Regions from separate parts of the Homo sapiens genome. Here region 1 is linked to region 2. The links are contacts of gene promoters, found by promoter capture Hi-C in human tissues and cell types (Jung and others, 2019). All regions are on one chromosome and are shown on one strand. The core of a region is centred on a gene start or on the middle of the fragment in contact, and the rest is flanking DNA. Distances in the headings are between cores, read along the strand shown. Region 1 has its middle 140 kb from the start of SLC24A3. Region 2 holds the start of SCP2D1 (SCP2 sterol binding domain containing 1).

Region 1 (2,700 bases), core at 166-2,665, 260 kb before region 2:
GCCAGGATGCCTATGATAGTAAATCACTAAACAATTCCCCTTAAAATGGATTTAGGAAGCACATATTCAAACTGAGTATGCATGGCCGAGCTTGGGAGTGAGATGAATAGACACAAGCAGTGGGTGGTTTTCACCCTAGCCCTGAAAGCTTTATTAAGAATCATTGCTCACAAGCGCCTGCCAGGTCATTAAGACTAATTGCATCATCCTGAGAATAATGAACCGCATCTTCACAGATTGATGTGGTGGGTTTTACAGGTAGAAAGCTACAGCTTTATCCATATAACACCTCTATTTTTGTAATGCTCAACTTCCTCTTTGAGGCTCAGAACTTGAGACCCCCTAGCAAAATACATGACTATTGACTCTGTGGATTGGTGATGGGGCAGGGGGTGATGCAGAGATTACTGGGGGCCTGGTGGATCACAGGCAGCGTGTGGGACCAAATCCTCTTGGTGCATTATTACCACTCCCTGGAACCTCATTGTGTTACAACCTGCACAACATATTTAACTTCCTCAAAGCCCTGAGGGATAGTCACTCTGGTTCCTAGCTTACAGAAGAGGAAAGTTGAATCTCCCCAAGAGTTTGCAACTTCCCCAAAGTCATACCCTTTAGAACCTCTCAAAGCAAAGCCTTGACTTAAACCCAGTATTTTCTGACCCTGAAGCCACGTTCTTTCTCCTTTGCTTATTTTATGAAAATTAGCTGAGAATTGCTGCAAATCAGTCTTCCCCAAAATGTCTCTGTGACCAGCAACCCCAGGTGTGTGTGGTTTTCAAGAGTCAAGATGATGTCAAATCAAATAACACTCTCTGCTCCCAAGGGTCCAACTTTGTGGCCACAAAGGAATGAGCCAGACTTCAGGCAGTAACACTTTAAGTGGTAAAGCTAAAATGCAAACTCTTCCAGAAAGAGCAAGGGGCTCCCTACATCCCCACCAAGATGGAAGAGATCCTCAAAAGGGCTCCGTTTTGACAGAGGGAGAAGAGGCAACCACAAGGGCCTGAAAGTTTAAAAACGTCATAAACTTGTGGAGGTCTCAGAGCAGGAGCCCTAAATTTGGGGGTTTCCTGAACCAATGTGTGGCTCTCCTCCTCTCTGCATTCGGCTTTCCACCAGAAGGTTGGCATGTGTGAGCGGCATCAACCAGCAACTTTACCCTCTGTCTTCTGCTCGGCTTCCACCAGTGCTATAATAAATATGGCAGCAGTCAGCTATCTGGTGACAAATTGAATACATTGGCCCCCTCCATCATGGCAGGAACAGCACTTTGTCCTCACAGGGACACACACATATTGCAGTTAGGGATGTATCCTCCCTGCCAGCAGCGCGTCTGCCAGAGCTACTGTTCTTGGACTTAGAAAACGCACAATCCATTGCCATGGTTTCCCACACAATGTTGCTTCTGCTCAGGAAACATTTTACTGCAAAGAGGCTGCGGCAACGGGCCCACACACATCGAATTCACTAGTCTTTCCATGCATCCCATCACCCAGAGGCTGGCTTGATGTGTGCTGGAATGACCTGCTGAAGACTCAGGAATGGCACCAGCTTGGGAGCCAACCCTTTATGCAATTGGGGTGTTGCCCTAAACAACATGCCTTCAGCCAGCATCCAAATGTAGTGTTCTCTCTGCTATAGCCAGCAAGCAAAAGTCCAAGAATGGTCCCTCTTACTGTTACTTCTACTATCCTACTTGAAGAACTTTTGCTTCCTGTTACCATGTTCTTGGGCAGATTTAGAAACACTCAAAGGAAGAATGATTATTCTAGAAATGCAGTATTGTTTCTACTGAATTGGAAATTGAGACACCAGTAGTGGCTAACATTTCAGATTTCTCCTGGGAGTGTAACCTCATTGATATTATCTCATAATGATGTAGTTTCTGATGGGACTTTGTATATTCTGTGAATTTTTTCCCAGATGAGGAGAAGGGATGTTGAGAGGCAAAAGAATGGACTCTGCAGATGCCTTCTGTTTGATGCCTTCTAGACCTTTCTTTTCTTAGTTGCTGCTGCAACAACAAAAATGCCATAGTTTAGGTGGCTTAAACAACAAACATTTATTTCTCAGTTCTGGAGGCTGAGAAGTACGAGATCAAGGCATTGGCAGATTCGGTGTCTGGCAAAGGCCCTCTTCCTGGTTCATAGATGGCAACTTCTTGTTGTTTGCACACGGCAGAAAGAGGGTGAGACAGCTCTCTGGGGTCCCTTTTTTTTTTTTTTTTTTTTTTTTTTTTTTGAGATGAGTCTCACTCTGTCACCAGGCTTCAGTGAAATGGCATGATTTTTGGCTCACTACAACCTCCCCCTCCCAGGTTCAAGCAATTCTCATGTCAGCCTCCCAAGTAGCTGGGACTACAGGTGTGCACCACCATGCCCAGTTAATTTTTGTATTTTTAGTAGAGACGGGGTTTCGCCATGTTGGCCAGGATGGTCTCTGTCTCTTGACCTTGTGATCTGCCTGCCTCGGCCTCCCAAAGTGCTGGGATTACAGGTGTGAGCCACCATGCCTGGCCTGTGGGGTCCCTTTTACAAGGGCTCTAATCCCATTTCTAACAGCTCCACCCTCATGACCTAATTACTTCCTAAAGGCCCAGTCTTCTAATGCCATCGCATTGGGGTTGAGGATCTCAACATACGAATTTTGTGGTGACACAGTCAGTCCATACCACTTCTCTTCCATGATCTTTGCCCC
Region 2 (2,700 bases), core at 77-2,576:
GGCCTAGAATAGAATAGTTACAGTCAATACTGAGAGCTTTGGCATGAAGTGAAGCAGAGCTGGAATTCTCTAAGGGTGGTGCCATCAGCATCCCCTGGGAACTTGTTAGAAATGTGCATTCTCTCCAGCCCAGATTTCCTGAGTAGAAGCTCTGAGATGGAGCCCAGCAATCCAGACTTTAACCAACCTTTCCGGTGATTCTGATGCATGCTCCAGTTAAGAACCACTGGCCTAGAACACCTCCCAAGCCCTTCAAGTTTCTTGGAATTGAAACCATCAGAAATTATAATACACCAACAGCACCATCCCCTCTATTGCCTGGGTTCCACCCACAGACCTGTGGTGCCCCATTCCCTTAGCACCCCACAGTCTCATAGTAAAGTTTCCTCATGGAATCAAGTTACCATGCAGAATGCACACCTGCACAATGATAGTTATCACTTCTTTCCCCAAAACATCAAACTTTTTTAGAAAAGGAAAAATGTCTCAAGAACACAATCATTGGAGTATTTAATTCCAATGATCATAATCACCCATTTCTTTACACGTGGCTCTCACCCTGGCATAAATGGAGCATAAAGGGCATAAATGGAGCTAAAAAAAGAGAAAAAGACAAAGATTCTAATTGATGCACTACAACGCTTTTTACTGCTTCAGAACCCTCCCTGAAAATTTACCCATCAACAGGAAAATCAATTAAACTTGAATAGGAAGAATTTGAGTAAAAATATTGGATACTTTTTACTTTAATCTTCAGATTAAGCATGATTTCCACTCGACATTATCATCGAAGAGAAGTTCTTCCTTGGTATTTTTGCATGCTTAAAATTTAGCCCAGTCTTTGAAAACCCTTTCCAGCTTCCAGCTAAGCAGAACCTTGCCACTCACTTTGAACTTTCCGGCAAGGAAAGCCTTCTGCGGGTTCATTTTGCCCAAAACCAGCTCCATAAAGACAGACTCCGGGATTGTAAAGACAGTGTCTGCTGGGAGCCTGGCAGGTCCCGGATACATGTCCCCAGAACCATTCTTCAGATCAATGGTCCACCGCAAAATGGTCTTCCCATTTTTGGTGATGTCCAGCTGAAAGACGGCATTGACTTTCTTGACCAATTGAGCTCCCACTTCCCTGATGTGAAGCCTAATGTCCTGAAACACTGGGAAGCTCTCAAATTCTGACAGCTCTAGAGGATGTGGCATGGCAGGTTCTGGAACTGAACCCAGAACCTCGAACTGGCCCACCAGAGGTCCATCCTCTGCTTTGATCTTGGGTTGATGGTCACTTCTCTTCCACATCTTCCTGTGCTAGTCCCCTGGACCTTGCCATCTAGTCTGTGAGCAGCTGTGACCAGATTAATACCCACAGGTCAGATTGTGACATCAAAGGTAAGGCCAAGTGGGGACTGAAGCTGGTGTGTGTGCTACAGTCTTATTGGCCAAACAAATGATAACGTGTGACCTCAGATAAGGGCTCAGACAGGCCATTGTGAGGCAGATCCACACACACACGCCCCTCCCAAACCAATCAGGGATGTTGGTCCTGCAAGCCCAAAAGGTCTGCAGGCTGCAATGGGGTTAAGGGAAACTGGCCCCAGAAGCTTCTTTAGTGACATGAGCTCTGTCTTTCCAATGCAGACATCTCCTCAGTGAAACCCAACGTGAGACAGAAGTTATTCTTATTCCTCTAAAACTAGGTAACACTTAAGTCCCATTAAGTGGGTAATACTTAAGTTAATACTACAGATCCTAGTGCTGAATTTGGCTTTATCTGGCTGCTGGTAGAAAGGGAAATGCTTTTAGGCCAGAGTAATTGATTGGAGAAGGAATCAGTCCAGGAGCCTGCATCAGAAACTTTCCAGAAGCACAGTGAGACACACACAGAGAGATTAAATGTCCCTAAGATCAGAAGATGCTGCCAGTCTCCTCTGATAATTACACGTAATAGTATAGCCCTTGCTCTGGGCCAAGGTGCAGAGTTCTAAGTACTACACATGTATTAACACATTTAACTCTCATTACAACCCTCTATGATAGGTATTTTTTCTTTTTTTTTTTTTTTTTTGAGACAAGGTCTTGCTCTGTCACCCAGGCTGGAGTACAGTGGCGCGATCTCTGCTCACAGCAGCCTCTGCCTCCTGGGCTCATTTGATCCTCCCACCTCAGTCTCCCAAGTAGCTGGGAATACGGCGTGTGCCACCACACCTGGCTAATCTTTGTACTTTTTGTAGAAATGGGGTTTCACCATGCTGCCCAGGTTGGTCTCAAACTCCTGGGCTAAAGTGATCCACCTACCTCGGCCTCCCAGATAGGTATTCTTTTTATCCCCATTTTACATATAAGGAAACTGAGGGGAGAAATGAAGTAACTTGCCCAATGTCACACAGTTAGTAAGTAGTGTAGCCAGATTTGAGGAGAGGCAGAATGACTCCAAAGTCCACCTGTTTATTTCTTTACTTTTTATTCTGAAATAATTTCAGTCTTATAAAAAGTTTGCAAAAATAGTACCTGTTTAACCTTCTCCCAGCTTTCCCCAAAACTAACATCTTATATAATCACAGTACAGTGATCTAATCTGAGAAATTCACATTGGTTCATGACTACTAACTAATCTACAGACCATGTGAGACCATATCTATTTGGTTGCAGGTCTCCCTAGTGCCTTGCAGTCTGGGGCAGCTCTTCAATCTTTGTCTATCGTTACCT

Evidence for each region. The method cuts DNA at HindIII sites, captures the fragments that hold promoters and counts their contacts. A contact is called where the count stands out against the background at its distance.
Region 1: a contact is called between a fragment that was not itself captured here and the fragment with the promoter of SCP2D1 in region 2, in 1 of the 25 tissues and cell types used here (spleen).

What each region holds. Positions count from the first base shown.
Region 1 is chr20:19,068,978-19,071,677 of GRCh38, reverse strand. No RefSeq gene overlaps it. Among named protein-coding and RNA genes, the nearest start is that of SLC24A3, 140 kb to the left of the region's middle. The HindIII fragment of the contact is 3,871 bases long and covers 1-2,700 here.
Region 2 is chr20:18,812,409-18,815,108 of GRCh38, reverse strand. SCP2D1 (SCP2 sterol binding domain containing 1) reads right to left here and starts at 1,326. Exons shown (of 1, transcript NM_178483.3): 1 at 731-1,326. The coding sequence starts at 1,293. The coding sequence ends at 823. All of the region lies in intron 2 of SCP2D1-AS1 (SCP2D1 antisense RNA 1), which reads left to right. The HindIII fragment of the contact is 11,706 bases long and covers 1-2,700 here.